Linked DNA regions of Homo sapiens: region 2 is linked to region 1. The links are contacts of gene promoters, found by promoter capture Hi-C in blood cells and fetal thymus (Javierre and others, 2016). All regions are on one chromosome and are shown on one strand. Each heading gives the region's core, a stretch centred on a gene start or on the middle of the fragment in contact. The rest is flanking DNA. Distances are from core to core; before and after follow the strand shown.

The links. The method cuts DNA at HindIII sites, captures the fragments that hold promoters and counts their contacts. A CHiCAGO score of 5 or more calls a contact.
Region 2: the fragment with the promoter of PPID here is called in contact with the fragment with the promoter of MAP9 in region 1 in 5 of 17 cell types (non-activated CD4 T cells, total B cells, total CD8 T cells and 2 more); the score reaches 10.1 in non-activated CD4 T cells.

Annotation. Positions count from the first base shown.
Region 1 is chr4:155,374,469-155,379,383 of GRCh38, reverse strand. MAP9 (microtubule associated protein 9) reads left to right here and starts at 2,419. Exons shown (of 14, transcript NM_001039580.2): 1 at 2,419-2,613; 2 at 3,470-3,608; 3 at 4,363-4,447. The coding sequence starts at 3,534. RefSeq lists an enhancer at 2,537-2,966. The HindIII fragment of the contact is 1,286 bases long and covers 1,643-2,928 here.
Region 2 is chr4:158,720,463-158,725,377 of GRCh38, reverse strand. It overlaps PPID (peptidylprolyl isomerase D), which reads left to right and starts at 1,982. Exons shown (of 10, transcript NM_005038.3): 1 at 1,982-2,174; 2 at 3,895-4,035. The coding sequence starts at 2,090. RefSeq lists enhancers at 1,404-1,988, 1,876-2,355, 1,989-2,572. The HindIII fragment of the contact is 3,604 bases long and covers 527-4,130 here.

The sequences.
Region 1 (4,915 bases), core at 1,170-3,669:
GTAAGGAGAGGGAAAGCGGGGGAACCACAGTTACTGACTCACCAGCTCTACTGGGCACTGTCCTGAGTGGGGAAATAATTTTATCATATGTATTTGTGCAAAGTATTGTATGAAATCTTTAAAATGGCACTGGAAGGGGTTGGTATTATCCCAACCTATGAATGCACAAACTGGGGTTAGGAGTGTCTAAGTAACATACCTGAGGTCACACAGAAAGTTGCGAGCTGGGGCCGGGCATGGTGGCTCATGGCTGTAATCCCAGCACTTGGGGAGATGGAGGCAGGAGGATCGCTTGAGCCCAGTAGTGGGCAAAAAAAGTGAGATCCTGTCTCTAAAAATAAAATAAAATTGTAAGCTGGGATTGATGCACTATTACTCTGAAATACGTTGGGTCAAAGAATTTGGATGATCAATGGACAAGTTTTGTGTCCCAGAGGAATGATGAAGTGAGAAAGTTGAAAGTGCTGAAGAAAGAACTCCATAAGCTACATTGTGGGACTTGGGCTAGCTAGGAAAGGGAAGCAGGAAGCAAAGAGAGCAACTGATAAATTGGGGGAAGATGTGAAAAGCTCAAGAGTCTGGACATCTTAGATGAGATACATGCATTAAAAAAAAAAGAAAGAAAGAAAAAGTAAAAAAAAAAAAAAAGAGTCTAGATGTCTTGATGAGTTCCTAAATAGAAATAACAAGAGAAGAATAACTAAAAAAGGAAGCCATGGGCCTTTTGGAGTGGAGTATTACAGTTTAAGACTTCCAGTACGGAGCCCCACAATTAGGGGTATGGACAAGTGAAAGTCTTGGAGTATTGAGCAAAGAATTCTATTGAATGGAACATGGCCACACCATACCTTGGTGTGATCTCAGGTATTGGATAGGTTGGCTGTAGATATTCAGTGAATGTGGGAGAAGGGCCTATATATCTATTGATGACAGAAACTGAGAAATAGAACATAGAATATTGGCTTGTGAGGAGGAAGGGTTTGGAGTAATAGGAGAGCAGTCACTGAGTATGTGAGGACCTAGGAGAACTTAGAAATCTTCCTTCTACAGCAGTCCCTATTTGAAAAGCCCTCAGGGAGATAGTTTATTCAGAAAATAGTTTTGCTTAGCTAAGATAAGAATGCGATTATAGAGGAAAAAGTGAGAGAATGTTTTACAGTGGAAAGGAGGTTCCAGGAGCATGAGGTGAACCTGGAAGGGTTCAACAGTAGTGCCATGAGTTAATAGAAAATAGGGAGCATTTTCTATTCTGGGTATGTGTGTGTAGAGGTGGTGTACATTTTCAGCTTCATAAATGGATACAGATGAGTGGACATATATATATAATATATTATATAATATATATTATATATATAATATATTATATAATATATATAATATAATATATATATACTATTAGTTCTGTCCATCTAGAGAACCCTGATTAATACAGCATTGTATTTTACTAAATTTCTTATTTCTTGTTATGCACATTTAGTTTTTCAATACATTGATTTATTAAATTTCTATCTCAATGTGATTTGTTTATACAAAATTGAATTAGTGAAATATTAACATATTTTAGAGATGTGGAAAAAATACCAGGTATGAGTTTAATTACTAGTCAATGAATTCATTCAGATAATTCAACTAGGATTAAGCTTTTTAAAAATTAAAAATAGTAAAAATTCATATTATTTTAAAGACTTTCAATAAACGTTTTTGGTTTTTATTTGCTTTAAGAATTTCCTATGCGAATTAAATGATGTTGATTTTGTTTACTTTAGTAGCACATGCTCTTTTAGCCTAGTGGATCATTTTGTTTGGTTTGATTGGAATAAGATTACTCACTAAGTATACAAAGAGGGGGAGTTTTACATTCAAGTAAGATGTCAAATGGGCTTTCAGTTGTGTCCACAAGAGCTGAGGTCTCTCCAGGCCCTTTGCGGCTTAGTTGCATGAAGAGCATATCTAATATCGAATACAATTCCAGGCACTCTTCCAAGTGTTCCACTTGTATTATTTCATTCAATTTTACAGCAACCTTTCAGGTGTCTATTATTAGTACACTTTTGTTTTCCCCCAGAAGAAGAAACTGAGTCATAAAGACCTTAACTTGGGACAATCACGTGTGTAGGAAAGGGGTACCAGGATTCAAACCTGCAGTCGGAAACAGGGTTCTGCAAACTCACTACCGTACTATTCTGTCCCATCCACTGACACCGTACTTCGATTCAGAGAACTTCACGTCCTAACTGTGGCAAAACGACGAATGTGCTTTATTTGCAACACGTGCAGATAAGGACCCTTACTCTATTGGCAAGAGTAAGGCTATCTGGGTGGGAGTTGGGCGGGTCCTGTCTCCTAGGCAACAGCACATGCACACAAGCGACCAATAATGAGCCCCTCTCCAAAGACCCAGGAAGGTGATGTCACTTCCTTCGTCTGGGTGGTTGCCCCAGCGACACGTTGGGCCGAAGAGCGGTGTTGGGTACCCGAGAGACCCGGCGGTGGGGAAGTCACTTCCTCCCGAAGACGCTGTTTCCTAGCAACCGCCCTCCGCCTCTGTTATTAGCCCCTCCTCCTCGCTCGGTCCAGGACCGGCTCTGCGGGCGCCGCCAGGCCCAGACCAAGGTGAGCAGCTCCTACCCGATGCTTGGCTCTTGATTCTCAGGGTCGCGGAGAACTGGCCGCGGGCGTCCGGGGCCGGGAACAGAAAGCGGGACCTGGGGGCCATGGGGGATCCGGACAGAGACCGCGCTTGGACGTGCACGGGCCTGGCGTTCGCTGGTGCTCAGCATACGGCGCGGTGAGGAGCGGCGAGCACCCGGACGTCACCTGGCCTGGTAGGGAACGGAACCCGGGGCGCACAACGCTATGGGCGGCCCTGCCAGGCCTCTGCTCCGAGTACGGGAAACCGCGATTTTAATGCGGCTCATCGCGAAAGCTTCGTCGTTTTGTCTGGCTCTCTTTAACACTTTTGTGAGAGGAAAAATTGGCTTGCAATACATCTCGCTGGCTGTTTGCGGGTTAGCATTACGATCTTTTTCTTTGAATAGCGCTGTATGCAAATATATAGATACATTTTTTTTTTGGTGGTGGTGCTCATAATTTTTACGCCGACGATCCTTTTGATGGCCTTTTAAATAAGACGTGACTTATTTTGAAGGCAATGTTATACTTTAGAAGAGAGGTGAAAAATAAGGTGTTCTATTTTAATTGGCAGCATTTTGTCGTATTAACTTGTAATCATTTATTTGCAGACTTTTTAAGTAGTTGCAAAACTATTTTAGGATAACTTCCATTTGAATTTTTTTAAACAAGCTTGTTATGAGAATTTGCTATTTCTTTACAAGAACCTTTTTAAGTGAAGATGTAGCCCAATGTTCATATCAGATGCTTTTCTTTGACCTTTGTGGGGAGAGTAGAATCAAATGTAATAAAATAAATTCTGAAGCATGCGAAGTCTGATTTGTTTTGTATATTTCAGCTACTATCAGAAGTTGAATTCTAATAATTAGCTATTTTATAAAGGTAACGAGAAAAAATACACTATGTCTGATGAAGTTTTTAGCACCACTTTGGCATATACAAAGAGTCCAAAAGTTACCAAAAGAACTACTTTCCAGGTAAAGTATTTTTATTTGGAATCATTTCACAGTGTAAACACTGTATTAGATGGGTTGAAATTGGTGATTCTAGAACAGTCCTATATAAAGCAGGGGTAAATCTTATATTACTTTTGAGGTTTTGCACATGATCATGTTTGGGCTCCATCCAGTATTACAAACTCCCCTATATGGTTTTAAGACTACCAAAGTAGCCTCAATACTAGTTTCCTACTAAGTTAAAAGTTGAATCGCAACCTTAAATTGCCATTTTTATATAAAAACTTTTTTTTCTGTTGTAACATAATGTTTAAGTTTTTTTTTCTGTTGAGTCACTGCAATTTTGAACTCAGCCTCTAAGTTTGCAATATTGATTGCATCCATTTCTGAAATATGCCGAGACAAAAGCTCTTAAAAATACCAATTTCTTTCAAAATACCAGTTTTTAATAAATTATAATCTAAATTGAGCCCCTTCTTATTTGTTACCCTCCAGCTCTAATTATAACCTGCAATTAATTTGTTCCATAATGTGTGTCTCCTCTAGTTAAACTGCGAGCTCCATGAGGAAGGGCTCTTGTCTGTGATGCTCTGCATTGAGTATGAGGCGTAAAGTGGGTACATGGCATAAAGTGAGCTTGCAGGAAATATTTGTTAGATGAATGAAACCTAAGTTTGAAAGCAGTCGTTAATCAAGCATTGTTTGTTTAAAGAATTACTTGTGAATATGATACCTCCATGTTTGGATGGAAATTGATTTCAGTATCTCATTTCAGGATGAGCTAATAAGAGCAATTACAGCTCGCTCAGCCAGACAAAGGAGTTCTGAATACTCAGATGACTTTGACAGTGATGAGATTGGTATGTGACAGTATGGAAACGTGAACCACTTTTCTTCTTTTTGCTTCCTTAGTTTTGTATTTAGCCAGCCCCCCAACCACCCATCCCCTCAATCACGTATGTTAAAATAATACCTAAGCATTCACTAATTTTAGATTTTCAACTTTTTAATTAGTAGAAAGCCACTCTTAATTTTCAGGAAGTTGTATGATTTTCTTTTTTTATTGTTGTTTTGTTTTCTGAATGTGTATACGAAAATATAAATTAATTGATGGCAGGTTTGCAGTAAAAGGATGGCTGCCAGTGGTAAACCACATTGAAGAAGACAGGTTCATCTTTAAGATCAACCCTAGGAGGTGCTACAGCTAGTTAGTAACTAGTCCCACAGAACTAAACTTCGGTGCACATTAGAAGTGCTTTTATAAAGCTTGCTATAAATCAGATTTTTTTTGGCTGTGATAAGGGGTAAATTTAAAAACCACAGACTCT
Region 2 (4,915 bases), core at 733-3,232, 3.3 Mb before region 1:
ATGAGGTTTCACCATGTTGTCTGGGCTGGTCTTGAACTCCTGGGCTCAAGCCTTCCACCCACCTTGGCCTCCCAAAGTGCTGGGATTACAGGCGTGAGCCATCACACCCGGCCAACAAATTGGTTTTATTATGAGTAGCTAGTAATACATGTAATTTCTCTTTTACTTTTTAAAATATTATGAAAAAATTTAAATGTGCAAAATAAAGAAGAGTAGTATAATAAACTCCCATGCACCAATCATCTGCCTGGCCCTTATGTTTCATCCACAACCCAACCCACTTACCTGACTCCAGGTTATTTTAAAACAACTTCAGGCACTATAGCATCTAATTTTCAGTAATTTAAAAAAGAGTGTATAAGAATGCTTTAGAGATTACAAGGCAAATGCTTACACATTATCTTTTTCCATTCTCATACCCTGTTCTTTGGCACTTTACCGAAAAGGAAATGAGAAGGGTTCAGAGAAATTAAATGACTTTTCTTTGGTAACATGCCTAGTATACATGTAGTCAGAACTTGAAGCTTTTGCTTTTTTTTTTTTCTTTTTTAACATCAACTTTCGTGCTTAGTCCAGTGTATAACATCACAGGCAAATTCAAATTGAGAATAGGAATCAGTTGTTCTTTAACCGTAACCCTTCTAACTTTTACTTATCCTAAGACCGGGTAGCAAGTAGGGCAGGAGCCTTCATCTAGAGGGATGGTGACAGCTCTGATAGGGGAAAATTAGCACTGGTCTTTCCTTCCAAAAAGCCACTCTGGCTGCTGCTGTTGACACAAGGCTCCTGGCTTTTGAGACATTATTTGAGTGCTGGATTCCAATACTTTTTACTTTCTCATAAGAAAAAAAAATGTGAAGCATCTAAGGATATCTCCTGCCTTATTGATAAAGTAAGCCTCAGGCTGAATCCAAATTGCTGAGCTCCAATAGAACTACAGGGCAAAGCATCTACACAGGGAATTGCCACTCTTCTCCAAAATTAGGCTTTATTAAGAGGCAAGGCTATGTTCTCCTCATATATATGTGTGTGTGTGTGTGTGTGTGTGTGTGTGTGTGTGTGTGTAAAAAGTAAATGTTTTACACAGATCCCCATAAGGGAAAAGTGGGCTATAGTAATACAGTATTTTTTTGTTTTTCTTTTTTTTGGGGGGGGGGGGGACAGTTTCGCTCTGTCACCCAGTCTGGAGTACAGTGGCGCGATCTCGGTTCACTGCAACCGCCGCCTCCCGGGTTCAAGCGATTCTCCTGCCTCAGCCTCCCGAGTAGCTGGGACTACAGGCAAGCACCACCACGCCCGGGTGATTTTTTTTTTTTTTATTTTTAGTAGAGACGGGTTTCATCATGTTGGTCAGGCTGGTCTCGAACTCCTGACCTCAAATGATCCGCCCGCCTCGGCCTCCCAATGTGCTGGGACTACAGGCGTGAGCCACCGCGCCCCGCCAAATACAGTTTTATCAGGAATCAAAACTGTGCTCTCTTCTGGACTCTCAGCTTTAGCTGTTTGGAGCGTTTAGTCTAAGCCTTACCACTTACATTGTAATGTGAAGATCAAATTGTAACGACATGGCAATAATAAGGCTCCTATTGGTTGGGTACCACCAGTTTATGCCAGGCATTGTACTGATTCATGTCTTTAATCCTCAAAACGACCTTCCGAGGTCAGCGTTTTTATTCTTTTTCCAGAGGAGCAAACTGAGTTTCTGAGAAGTCACACCCAACTTGGTGGCAGAGCTGACGCTGGCATGGGGTTGACTCCAAAGCTCTCTACGCCACGAGGGTGGGAAAGACAACGAAACACAAGCGAGAAGAATAATGAGAACTGGGATCGCAACTTCATTAAATGAGAAGCCAGGAACAGGTGGCGGAGGGCACGCGGTTCGCTGCACGGAGTCGCTCAGGCTCTTTGAAACACCGCGCGGGGGAGCGGGGCGGTGCCGGAAGTCAGGCCATGGCTTCCGGTTCTTGCGTCGGAAGTGGCCGGTCAGCGTCGCTGCCGGTCTCCGGCGGAGACGGACTCTGGAGTTTGGGCGGCCCGGGCGGCCACTAGGTACTCTGATATTCCGTACTAAACACGTCTGCAAGTCAAGATGTCGCACCCGTCCCCCCAAGCCAAGCCCTCCAACCCCAGTAACCCTCGAGTCTTCTTTGACGTGGACATCGGAGGGGAGCGAGGTGAGCGGAGTCTGACGCTCGCGGAAAAGCCCCGAGGAGGCGGGGGTTCCCGGGATTTGGGGGATTCCAAGGGCGGAATGCGGCTCCGGCCGGTGACTGCTCAGTTTCGCGGAGGGGATGGCTGCCTAGGCTGGTCCGCCGGAGCAGGCCCGGAGATCTAGGGCTAGATCGATCCAGCGCCCTTGTATCAATGCCATCGGTGGTGCGGAAGTTTCTGGAAATTTCTAGTTCGGGAATTGTGGCGTCCTTTAGGTTTGCCTCCTGATTTGGTGGCACTTCCACGCCACCTTTGCACTACCAAGTTAGCATGAAATATTTTATGTTTGCAATGGGACAGTTCGGAAAGCATATCCTGGGATATGCGTCTGCTGGGCCCCAGGAAACTATATTTGCCACATGAGATAATATATCAGCACGTGCTGTGTTATTTATACGTTAAAGGGACTTGTTTGCTCATTGCTTTTGCCTTATTACTGATTCTTAATTTAGAGGTCCGTTCAGATGAGCAAACATTTTCTCTTAATTTGCCATTGGGAAAATGCGCTCAACGTAGTGATGGTGTTGCCTAGGTTACATAGCCGCTCAGAAGTTCCTAAGGCCTGGTGAATTAGGGAGCGTGTTGCTTTGTAACTGGATTGGCCTTGTTCTGGAACACGTTGGAATTGCTGGCCAGGCAATGTGTTTGAATGCATGTACAGGACACACACACGTTTACACGTACATTCAGTTTGTTGCAACTAGCTAGGGCTAGGTTTAATCTCACCTGTCTTAGCTGCTATCTAGAGGAGGAATTTTTACAGCTTTTGCTTCAGAGGTTGCATGAGGCAGTTTGCTCAGAGCACAAAGGCTGCAGGTATACGTAACACGTGGCAAGTCCGCCCACCCAAAGACTGTTTAATTTTCTCCCGTTGGTTGCTTGGTGATTGGAAATTCTCAGTACCTCTTGAAGAAATTACTCAGGATTTAAAACTATTTGTATTTAATGATATCTCTTACATGGTGCTAATCTTTTGGCTACTATAATTGGTTATGATCCTTAGTGTAATGTTTCAAATCTGTTTATATACATACATGACAGTAGGTAGACTAAATTTGAATATTAGAATAAAATAAGATTCACTAATTCTAGTGAGTATATTCAAAGGAAATGAAGTTTGTATGTCAAAGAGGTATCTGCACTCCCATGTTCATTGCAGCATTATTCATGATAGCCAAGATAATGGAATCAAACTAGGTTTCCATCTACAGATGGATTTTTTTTAAAATTTGATATATGTGCACAGTGGAGTACTATTCACCCATAAAAAATAATGAAATCTTGTCACTTCTGACAACATGAATTAATATGGAGGACATTATGTTACATGAAATAAGCTGGGCACAGGAAGACAAGGCATGATCTCACTTACATGTGGTTTCTAAAAAGTTGACCTTGAAGTAGAGAATGGAATGGTGGATTTCAGGGGTTGGGTAGATGTTGATCACGAGAGACCTAATTTCAGTTAGAAAGGGGGAATAAATTTAAGAGATCTATTGTATAACATAATGACTATAGTTAGTAGCAATGTGTTGTGTTCTTGAAATTGCAAAAAAGAAAAATTACAGTAAAGGGGAACTTGGTAATTCATGATTGATCTGCTACCATAATTATACCAACCTTCTTTTTATCATTTGTCTATTTGGTTGTTTTGCATACTGACAAGATTTTCTTTTCTTTTAGTTGGTCGAATTGTCTTAGAATTGTTTGCAGATATCGTACCCAAAACTGCGGAAAATTTTCGTGCACTGTGTACAGGAGAAAAAGGCATTGGACACACGACTGGGAAACCTCTCCATTTCAAAGGATGCCCTTTTCATCGAAGTATGTGTAAATTTTCTTAATCTTGTTATTCTTCATACAGACAAGTCCTGTTCTTTAGGATTTGGGGAAGAAAACACTAAGTAGGAAGTGAAGCTTAAAAAGTACTATTAGCGTCCATGTCTGAGGCAGTAACGCAGTTTCGTAAAGGTTAGGCTGTGCGAGGTGGAATTACTTATGGTACTAAGGTTTATCTATAGAGAAATGGACTCCCCTAGCTTTACCCATCCTCTCATTCTCCTTCACTCTAAGATGATTTGATTGAGAAAGGAAGGCCGTAGTCAACCAACCTTAGGTAGCTTCATTGCCTGGTGACAAAAAAGTTATGCATAGACCGGGCGCAGTGGCTCACGCCTGTAATCCCAGCACTTTGGGAGGCTGAGGCGGGTGAATCACGAGATCAGGAGATCGAGACCATCTTGGCTAACGCGGTGAAACCCCGTCTCTACTAAAAATACAAAAAATAAGCCGGGTGTGATGGTGGGCGCCTGTAGTCCCAGCTACTCGGGAGGCTGAGGCAGTAGAATGGCATGAACTCAGAAGGTGGAGCTTGCAGTGAGCCGAGATCACGCCACTGCACTCCATCCTGGGCGACAGAGTGAGACTCTGCCTCAAACAAACAAACAAACAAACAAACAAACAAAAAAATGCATAATTTTTGGGCCTGAGTGCTTGGGAAGGCAGCAGATTTGAAGATTCAGTGTTTTGGGCACATGGGTGATAGTGTGGTCAAAATATGCCATTTCATACTGCTTATTACACTTTGTAATGAATCATACTTTTGTTTAGTGATAATGGTTCTCCCAATAGACTGCAGGCTCTATGAGTTCAAGAACTGTATGTTTTCACCATTTTGTTTTTGGCATCTAATACAGTTATTGAG